3 separate regions of the Homo sapiens genome follow, and all the other regions are linked to region 2. Evidence: promoter capture Hi-C in 16 types of primary human blood cells and fetal thymus (Javierre and others, 2016). All regions are on one chromosome and are shown on one strand. Each heading gives the region's core, a stretch centred on a gene start or on the middle of the fragment in contact. The rest is flanking DNA. Distances are from core to core; before and after follow the strand shown. Region 1 has its middle 63 kb from the start of IL21-AS1. Region 2 holds the start of IL2 (interleukin 2). Region 3 has its middle 81 kb from the start of IL21-AS1.

Evidence for each region. Contacts are between HindIII fragments. The CHiCAGO score rates a contact against its expected background, and 5 or more counts as called.
Region 1: a fragment that was not itself captured here is called in contact with the fragment with the promoter of IL2 in region 2 in 1 of 17 cell types (activated CD4 T cells); the score reaches 6.9 in activated CD4 T cells.
Region 3: a fragment that was not itself captured here is called in contact with the fragment with the promoter of IL2 in region 2 in 1 of 17 cell types (activated CD4 T cells); the score reaches 6.9 in activated CD4 T cells.

What each region holds. Positions count from the first base shown.
Region 1 is chr4:122,554,380-122,558,295 of GRCh38, forward strand. No RefSeq gene overlaps it. Among named protein-coding and RNA genes, the nearest start is that of IL21-AS1, 63 kb to the right of the region's middle. The HindIII fragment of the contact is 6,323 bases long and covers 1-3,916 here.
Region 2 is chr4:122,454,364-122,458,022 of GRCh38, forward strand. IL2 (interleukin 2) reads right to left here and starts at 2,362. Exons shown (of 4, transcript NM_000586.4): 1 at 1,931-2,362; 2 at 1,781-1,840. The coding sequence starts at 2,077. The HindIII fragment of the contact is 2,130 bases long and covers 1,008-3,137 here.
Region 3 is chr4:122,536,701-122,540,081 of GRCh38, forward strand. No RefSeq gene overlaps it. Among named protein-coding and RNA genes, the nearest start is that of IL21-AS1, 81 kb to the right of the region's middle. The HindIII fragment of the contact is 7,362 bases long and covers 1-3,381 here.

The DNA of each region.
Region 1 (3,916 bases), core at 225-2,724, 99 kb after region 2:
AGCTAGTCACCTTTCCATAAAGGAAATGTTTAGGTGAAGCAGTAGCCAGAGGCCTGCACAGACTGGACTGGCCAAGGCTTAATAGGACCCAGCCCTATTGGGATTTGCATTGCCTCTATATCAGTTTGGACTTTCTTCCTTGTTTGTCACTTCATGTTTATAAGATGGACACTACAGCTCTGAACATCACATTCATGTTCATCTAAGACTGTAGAAGAGGAGCAGGGAGAAAGAGGTTAGTGTCAACAGATTTTCTCTAATGTTTTTGTTTTTGAGACAGAGTCTCATTCTGTCGCCCAGGCGGGAGCACAGATGTGCAATCTCGGCTCACTGCAACCTGTGCCTCCCAGGTTCAAGCGATTCTCGTGCCTCAGCCACCCAAGTAGTTGGGATTACAGGCATGCACCACCACGCCCAGCTAATTTTTGTATTTTTAGTAGAGACGAGGTTTCATCATGTTGGCCAGGCTGGTCTCAAACACCTGACCTCAAGTCTCCCAAAGTGCCTCAGCCTCCCAAGGTGCTGGGATTACAGGCATGAGCCACTGCACCTGGCCATTCTCTAGTGCTTTGTTGCCAGAATGATATCACGTGGTAATTCTAGGTATTCTAGCAAAGAAGACTGGGAAATAAACTATTTAGCTTTTGCATCCTCTCAAATAGAGATAGTCAGTAGGGAGTTGAACTGGGGTGGGGGGAGCCAGCATACAGGTGTCTATCTCTGGCTCTGACACACTCCTCACCACTTGCTCCCTTCCCAGCCTACCCTATTTCTTTTAAAATTAAAAAAAAGCAAGGGAACACCCAAGGATGTTTCTAGTGGAAATAGTCATTAAACTCATTCAAGTCTTCATCTTGCACCCACCCCCATCTGTTCAGATACCCAGAAAGCCTGTTTCTCTAGTTTTATCATATTTCATTCTTAGAACAGATGTGTTTTTCTCTCAGTTTACCTTTGATTTCAACTGCAGCCATGGTGAACAGTGCTATGCATGCCATTAATCATACATCAGGCATCCATCATAAGCCTTTCCTCTTTCCTGTCCTGTGGTTTTTATCAAAATCAGCAGAATTCATTGGCCCGTATATATGAGCAGCCCGGGAGTGCAGAAAGGTTTATTTTCCTGGAGATAACCTTCCTCCAGGGGTAGAAGGGAGTCAGTAGATAAATGCCTCTTCTGCACTTGAACAATCTGCTGGGGCATTCTGCATTACTTCCTTGGAGGGTCTCCTTGGGATTGGGTCCCAGTTGTTCACAGTAGAAACCAGCTCAGTAAACCAGTAAACCCTTCTTTCCTGTTTTTGGTTTTTGTTTTTTTTTTTTTTTCTTCTCTAACTCTCCCTTCTCCCTCACTCCTGCTTCCTGGGAGCACCACCCAAATATGGAGAGATCTGCTCCCATGTTCTTATCTCAGGCTCACTTTGGAGGGGACCCAAACTAAGGCAAATCACTCTTCATTGAAACTTCTTGACAATTTTTTTAAAATTTTATTTTATTATTATTATACTTTAAGTTTTAGGGTACATGTGCACAATGTGCAGGTTAGTTACATATGTATCCATGTGCCATGCTGGTGTGCTGCACCCATTAACTCGTCATTTAGCATTAGGTATATCTCCTAAAGCTATCCCTCCCCCCTCCCCCCACCCCACAACAGTCCCCAGAGTGTGATGTTCCCCTTCCTGTGTCCATGTGTTTTCATTGTTCAATTCCCACCTATGAGTGAGAATATGCGGTGTTTGGTTTTTTTTCTTGCGATAGTTTACTGAGAATGATGATTTCCAATTTCATCCATGTCCCTACAAAGGACATGAACTCATCATTTTTTATGGCTGCATAGTATTTGGCATTTTCATGGGATCCTTTCCTTTATGTACTTCCTTTTGAAGGGAAAGTGGGCTTGATTTCAGTACAGAAATTAAAAATCTTGATTTCTCTATAGAAATTATAGTGAGAACTATAATCCACTAGAAAAATGTAAATGTATCATGTGCTTTTCTATTAAAAGAAACAAATATATCAAAGGATGTTCTTCATCCTTATTTCAGCAGTCCCCAACCTTTTTTGGCATCAGGAACCAGTTTTGTGGAAGACCGTTATTCCACAGACAGGGGGTTGGGGGATGGTTTGGGGATGATTCAAGCATATTACATTTATTGTGCACTTTATTTCTATTATTATTACATTGTAATATATATTGAAATAATTATACAATTCATCAAAATATAGAATCAGTGGGAGCCCTGAGCTTATTTTCCTGCAACTAGATAGTCCCAACTGGGGGTGGTGTGAGACTGTGACAGATCATCAGTCATTAGATTCTCATAAGGAGCATGCAACCTAGATCCCTTGCATGTGCAGTTCACAATGAGGTTCACACTCCTATAAGAATCTAATGCTGCCGCTGATCTGACGGGAGGTGGAGCTCAGGTCATAATGCTCCTTGGACTGCTGCTCACCTCCTGCTGTGCAGCAGAGTTCCTAACAGGCCACGGACTAATACCAGTCCCTGGCCTGAGGGTTGGGGACCTCTGCCTTATTGGACCCAAGCATTGAGCAATGCTTGTAAATTATATGTGTTCAGGAGAATCAGCAACAATACAGAAACATTTGCAAAGCCACTAGTGTACCAAGTACCAGGCTCAGTGGTATGAACTAAGGATTCATAATTGAATAGACATAGCTTCTGCTTTCAAATTGCTCATGTAGTGGAGGTGGGGCACGGGGAAGGTCAAGTCAACAAGGATCTGTGTGGTATGTGCTGTAAGAATCCACCTATCTTAGTGACTGATGAAATGTGAGATGGGAACAAAAAAGATACAAGAATCTAGGATGACTCCAAGTTTTCCAGCCTGGGCAAGTGGGTGGATAGGATGTCATTAACCAAAACAGACAATGAAAGGACAATAGCAGATTTGAAAAGAAAATATGTTGAGTTCAGAATGCCTGGAAGTTATTAAGGTGGATATATCTAGTAGACAGATATATAGGTCTGGAGATAAGGAAAGAAATCAGGACTGGAATGTAGATTTGGGAGTCATTTATACATAAAATTAAAGCTAAAAAAATAAGTTAGATCAGCAGGAAAAAAAAAGGAGAAGAAAAGCAAATGAAGGAAAAATTCAAGGAAACAGCAGGACTAATAAATGGATTAAGAAACAGGAACCAGCAATGAGTCTGAGGAGGACTGAACAGAGAGGTAGAAGAATCAGATAGAAGTGTTCCTCAATTCCTTTTTTAAAAAAATACAGGGGTCTTACTATGTGGCCCAGGCTGAACTTGAACTCCTGGGCTCAAGCATTCCTCCCATCTCAGCCTCCCGGGTAGCTGGAACTACAGTCCTGTGCCCCCACATGTGGCTTCAATTCCTAAAAACCAAGAGAGGAGGCCGGACGCAGTGGCTCACGCCTGTAATCCTAGCACTGTGGGAGGCCGAGGTGGGCGGATCACAAGGTCAGGAGATCCAGACCATCCTGGTTAACACGGTGAAACCCCGTCTCTACTAAAAATACAAAAAATCAGCCGGGCGTGGCAGCATGCGCCTGTAGTCCCAGCTGCTGGGGAGGCTGAGGCAGGAGAATGGCGTGAACCCGGGAAGCGGAGCTTGCATTGAGCCGAGATCGCGCCACTGCACTCCAGCCTGGGCGACAGAGACAGACTCCATCTCAAACAAAAACAAAAACAAAAACAAAAAACAAAACAAGAGAGGAGGCTTACAGAGATGATGCAATTTATAGTGCCTGATGCTATGGAGAGGCCAGGTGGGAAGGATGAAGACAAGGACCTTCAGCATTAGTGACTTCAGAGGTGTCAGTTTTGGTAGAGAGGTGGATAAAGGACCTGTAGTGTATTATTTTACTCACCTCGACCCATGTCTCCTTAACAGCCATCAAAGTTGGGTGTCAACATTACCTTC
Region 2 (3,659 bases), core at 1,112-3,611:
GACACATTTTTAAATATGTCTTAAATTTTTACTTTTCTACAATCACTACATTAAGATGCATTTTAAAAATGTTTGTCCCAGTGAAATAAAAAATTATAATACTTTGGGAGGACTTTTGGACAGGCCTCTTGATTCTATATTATATATAATATTTCATATTTCTATGGTATATTACAATTTAAAAGAATTTTCTCCAAAATAGGCCCATTTACTTCTCACAGTCATCTTTTGAAGTAGGCAGTGAAGTATCATCTCCACTTTATAAATAAGCACACTAAATCTCAGAATTTGACCACATAAGTAGGTAGAGCCAGAATTAGATTTCATTTCTTTCTCATTATAGCATTAACATAGCATCCTTGGAATCAAATATTTTTATTAGTTTCTAAAATCTTTTGTAAATGTGCAATGAGGGTTAAATGAACAAATGAATAGAGTTTATCATTACTTTTGGTTTCAAACTTAGATTTCCATGAATTCTACCACCCCCTAAATTATGCACATAATCTCATCTTTCTAACACTCTTTAGTGGGAAAGGTAGGTCAAGACAATACCAATCCCCTGATATGTCCATCTATTGCGCTTTCAATTCACCACTACAAATTCTACAAATTCGGGTTTAAGTTTTTGGCATGAACAATGTGGAGAAATTTTCTTCAGAAAACAGCATCTAGTATCTTTATGTTGCTGGAGTTGCATTATGTGGCTCTGATTAAACTAGAGTAACATCTGTAAGCTGTCTCCTTTACATCTTTCAGAAGGGTAGTTAGAAGCAGATTTCTCTTGAATTAATAGAATTTGAGTCAATGGGATTGCATCTGTGTCCCCTTAAATCCTATTATTTTCTGGGCTTGGATTCACCCTGGCACAAGCTCTTTCTGGCACCAGATTTTGTTCATTCTCTCTTAACTGGCACAGCTACTAGGTAGCTTTACACACCTAATGTAGCCTAGGAGCTTGGATGATTATGCTTATGCTCTATCTGAATCCAAAAACAACCTAATGAAGCTTTTAATCTTGGAAAATAAGTCATATAGCATTATAAATCTCAAGTTCTATTGGTAAAAAGATAAAGTCCAAAATTTTACTTTGTATTTCTCAGTGAAAATTTTATCTTTAATACTACTAATAATAGCTAATGCTTGTATGGTATTTACCTTATGCCAGACACGGTTCTGAGTGCTTTACATTTACTTACTAATTCTCACAAAGCCATATTAAGTATATACAGTTATTCATTTAAGTAGACATGAAACTGAATCACAAACAGAGTAGGTAATTTGCCAAAGATCATGAAAGCTAGGACATGGCAGAGCTGAGATTTCACTTCAGATATCTGGCCCCAGACTCTGTGCTATTAGTGTTATGCTGCCTCTCACTTAGAAACCTTTCCTAAAACAAGAAAAGATTTTTAAAAGTGGGCTCCTTGGAAATAGATTTTGGTATTTTACATACTAAAATGACATAATCAAATATTTTAGAGTTTTACATTTTTAAATGAAACCATAAATGAACATTTTTGTTTAGAATTGTCTTATCGATAAAGTGAGAATATTATTTTTATGTTTTCTTCCCACCCCCACCAACACACAAATATATATTAAAAATATAGGTAAAACTGTTTTAATAGAGGCTTCATTATCAAACTTGGGTTTTCAAAAAAACAAATTAAAGTTACTCTTTACCTCAGATGAGCTGCTATTAGTCCCATCTGTGCAAATTTTCATATTACTTTGAATTTTATTAAAACAGAAATTGAACATAAAATATTGTACTTACCTTCTTGGGCATGTAAAACTTAAATGTGAGCATCCTGGTGAGTTTGGGATTCTTGTAATTCTAAGAAAGTATAATGCATTGTTATTAAGAAATGATCTCCAGCTAGATTACTAAATGTAATAATTTTAGTAAGAAAGGAAATATACTTACATTAATTCCATTCAAAATCATCTGTAAATCCAGCAGTAAATGCTCCAGTTGTAGCTGTGTTTTCTTTGTAGAACTTGAAGTAGGTGCACTGTTTGTGACAAGTGCAAGACTTAGTGCAATGCAAGACAGGAGTTGCATCCTGTACATTGTGGCAGGAGTTGAGGTTACTGTGAGTAGTGATTAAAGAGAGTGATAGGGAACTCTTGAACAAGAGATGCAATTTATACTGTTAATTCTGGAAAAATATTATGGGGGTGTCAAAATGTTTTACATATTACACATATTTTCAAAGACTTTACCTGTCTGAAAAAACATTACCTTCATTTTTCCTCTTCTGATGACTCTTTGGAATTTCTTTAAACCCCCAAAGACTGACTGAATGGATGTAGGTGAAATCCCTCTTTGTTACATTAGCCCACACTTAGGTGATAGCTCTAATTCATGCAATTAACGCCTTCTGTATGAAACAGTTTTTCCTCCTTTCTTTAAGGGGGTGGGGATACAAAAGTAACTCAGAAAATTTTCTTTGTCATAAAACTACACTGAACATGTGAATAGCATATTGTGGTGGACAAGAGCAAGAGTAAACAGATGAAAAGAATAAATGTTTAGATTTGTTGATAAAACAGGAAGTGTATTGGTTTCCTGTTTCAGAATGGTTTTACCTTTTTATCCACACAATGAGCTAATTGCATACAATAAGATAGATTGCTTCTTACATGTCAGCTAGAGAAATACTAAGATTAGAATACTTAAAATGCTTATTGAGCTTGAGGTACTGTTTAACGCTATTTTAATTTAAAATGATTATATATCTGTTTAAGTCTCTTAATGTCTATTGTACATTTTTTAAAGGGTGCGATTGTTAAATACTCAGAAAAAGGTTTGCATTCAAGGATACTGATGCTAGTTTTATAATAGACTTTGTATGTGTTATGTGTAAACCAGTCCATGTTTCTCGTTTTTATGTCTTTACCTCTTTAATGGATTTTTATTTATCCTCTAAATCACCTGGGACACTATGAATGTAACAATAATCGTTATGAAATATGATCTTGTTTTTAGTCAGAAGACTAGGATATTTAGGATAGGTGTTCATTCATCCTCAGTACAGTGCACAAACTGGCTGAACAATTGTACGGATATATACTTCTAATTTAACCTGGGGACACTTGAGGAGATCCTGTCTCAGAGAGAGTCCTTGTAAAGCTTCCATTCTATGGCCTTATTTATTTCTTACCTGGACTTTTTTTTTTTTTTTAAAGATGGTATTGTCTGTGTTTTTGTTTGTTTTTTTAAGACAATATTGTCTGGTCTTTAAACAGACATCTAGCACCTATAATGCCTTCAGGTATATAGAAAGAGAGAAAAGAGAACAGTGTACAGGCAGGCACTTAGTCTAATATAAGTCTTACAGACTTGTGAAGTGATGGCTCCTATTTTGCAGATTAGAAAACTGAGGCTCAGAGAAGTTAAGTAATTTGCTCTAGGTCACTCAGCCCTTATTGCCAGTAAGGGGCAGAAGAAGGATTTGAAAAGAGAATGTTCTGACTCCAAAAATCCACTCTCTTACCATTTGTATTTTTTCAAAGAACCTGATTTGTAATAGGGAAGATATGTACATACACAAGTGTAGTCCTGGGTGATAGGTGATTGCTGCCCCAAGGGAGGTGGATATAAGGAATCTTGAATAAGGAACAATTAATTTAAACTGGATTTTGAGGAGGGT
Region 3 (3,381 bases), core at 762-3,261, 82 kb after region 2:
AAATAGACAATACATTTAACTCAAGCCACATTTTACTTCACTTGAAAAGTATTCCACCACTTGTGGCCAAAAACTCCCTTCTGAAAATTAGCAATTTGGGGTTGTTGGGATTTTTGGGTGACTCCTTTTCTGGCTTCAGAAAAATGCTAAAAATATAACCTATTGAACTCATGGGAAAAGTGAGCCACCATGATCAGATAGAGCCTGTTCAATCCATGAATGCACTGGAAACATTTTTGAATTTGACAGGAAATAGAAAGTTTTGCAGTGGAGGATCTCTCAGGGCTAATTATAATCTTACATAATTGAAGGGCTAGCAGGGAGTTTAAGAGATCAATTTATCTACTCTGTGTTTTCCAGGAGTATAATGTTTAAACCATACTCAACAAGTAAGAATCCATATTATGTTATTTTGTATTTATTTATTTTTAAAGACCTTAACTGGCTTTATTTACAGTTCTACAAGCAGGCAACACTTCATTCTATAAAACAAAATGAGTGTTCCCTATCCTATTTTAAAGAAATCTGTAAAACAGTGGGAATTTTAAATCATAAAGCCTCTTGTGGATTTAAATAAACAGCATATCTCCCATAGGGATTGTCAGTACTGAAATTATCTAACACATGAAGTAGTGAAAATCAGACTCATTTTAAAGATTTGTGTATGTACAGAACTACTCTTAATTCCTCCCTACCACTGTTTTGGGATAAATTCAGCATACCACAATGCGGCATAGGTAGAACTTGGCACACTTCTGTCATGCAGACTATGATGGCATACCTGTGGATCTCTCATGAGCAAAGTTTCTCAACAGAGTACATACTGGCATTTTGAGTGAGACAATTTATTGTGCAGTGTTCCTGGCTCCATCCCACTAAATGCTAGCAGTGCCCCCTAGTTACTGTGACAACCAAAAAAGGCTCATCACCCATCTCCAAATATTACTGGGCAGAGTGGTATCACCCCAGCTTGAGAATCACTGCACTAGTCTATGGACTTGTTATGAATGGTCAATACTATTTGTAGGCATACATTTATTTATTTACACATGGAAATATATAAACAGTTTATTCAATGTAGTATACAAATAAGGTAACAGCTTTTATTTTTCAGAGATTTACTCAGTCCAATGGGGATCTTTTCATCCCACTGGGTTTCTATTCAAGCATAGTGTGACCCAGTTTGAAGGAAAGTGCTTGTCCACTGTTCGGGGATGCTCATGCTGGTCCAGGGCCAGCTCTGCCACTCTGTCTCCTCTTGCTGAGCCACAGTTTACAATGGACAAAGAAAGTAAAGCATCTGGCCTGTGACCCATTAATTTCCTTTACCAAGGGCCAACCTCTGAGAGAAAGAAAAGAGGGCAAGTGCCCCAATCTGATTTTCTTATCAATTGGACCTCTAAGTAAATAGATGAATGATGTTTGTTAGCAGGAAGAGATTTCATCTGTTGAATACCACTGACTTAGTGTAAATAAATCTACGATATATGGCGACATAAGGCACAGCTCCCTGGAAAATGTCATTCTTTGAGATATAAAATGGAGATATTGTATGACTCAAATGCTCCTCCTTCTGCGTGAGAAAAAAAAAACCTTTAAATGTCACTAGAAGATCCTCATTTATTATTCTGGGCCAGAGAGTAAATGTTTGACATGAAAAGATAGGATCCAAGGAACCACCCTCAATGTCTCAGATCCCTCTTTGCTTCATTTGAGTCTCTTGATTGCCTGTATCTTGAAATTTTTGTAAAAGCTCAATGTTGGGTAAAGGTTTGGATTTAGGTGAGTCTGACTTGACTAGCTAATTTTTTGTGTTATCTCATTCCCCAAACCCTCTTTTGTCTCTGCTGTAAGAGCCCAAAGGTACTCTGGCACTAGTCCCAAGACTATGCTCATAGCAATCCTCACTCATGACCATCCTCGTGAGCCTTTCCTTGACCCCAGAGAACCATCCTAGACTTTACCTTTCTCAAAATAATTTCATTTCAAAGGCCTTAATTCCTTTCCCTATCTCCTGGTCTGGATTTGTCCCAAAGGCTTTGAGCTCTTTAAAAACTTGATCCATTACAAAAAAAAAAAAAAAAATGAGAGTAGACCGGATTCAATACTAGTCACAGTGGGGTTTGCAGAGATGTTTCAGTGAGCTGAAATACATGAAAAATTACTTAAGATAATTGCTAATTATAAAAAAGCCATGCAGGTATTTGGCAATACTCTCATTTTGAAATGAGATAAACTGAGAATATTTTAAATATATTATAGATAAGTTAACTTCCTTTTAAGCCAGGAAAGTAAAATTATAATAAATTCTGATTTTGATATAAATAAAATGTGGAAAATTCAAACAAACAAACATAATCTACCTCCTCTCCAGTGACAGGGGTCTTAGGAAATGATAGCACTGATGGAGTAAGTCATCATCATCATCAAAAAATAATAATGCCTTTTTATATTCTAACCCATGATAACTGGTGTCTATGCTTGAGAGATAATAGAGTATAGTGAGTGACAGCAAAGGCTTTAGAGCCAGACTCCTTAGGTTTAAATCCCAGCTTGCCCACTTGCTGCCCAAGATATTGGGCAGGTTATTTGGCCCTTTAAGTCTTAATTTTTTTCATCTACAAATTGGGAAGAATAATAATATGTACTTCATAGGATTTGTTTAAGAAATGAATTAATACAGGTAAATAGCATAAAATGGTATTTATGGTACCTGGGTGTATTTGGGAGATTATAAGTCATCAATAGTTATTGACTATAAGTATTATTTGCATAATTAAGATGGTCAGAAAAAAATAAGCATATTTCCTGAAACTAAGAGAAACTAGTTTCTCTTTTAAAAAAGCATAGTGTTAGTGTATCTACCTATCTATGTAATTATTGTGTAACTGGATGATACACATGGTATACTGGAAAACATATGAGCAATAGAGACTTCAGAAGATGTTGGTTTAAATTCTCTCTCTCCTAAATGTCTTCTTAAAATGGGTACATCTATACAAACCTACCTCGCAGGAGGACTGTTGTGCAGATTAAATATCTTGTTTGTAAAATGTTTTGTACAGTGCTTGTCCTTTGCGAGTCCTTCACAAATAGTTCCTATTGCTAGTACTAGGACTCAGCATAGCATTCAACACATGCTTGAGAAAGAGTAAATAACGAATGTGTAGTACTATGCAGTCAATTTGTGAAGTGACAAGCATGACTCTACAGGGAAGGCCACATTTCTTACACTGTTCCTACAAAAGCTGGATATTCACAAATCAAGAATGTGAAAGTAGATATTCCTTCATTTGAAGGGAGAGAGAACTGTATAATGGATAACAGACTGAGCTAATGCTCTGAATCACCTAGGAACCTTCTAAAAGTACAGATTCTGGA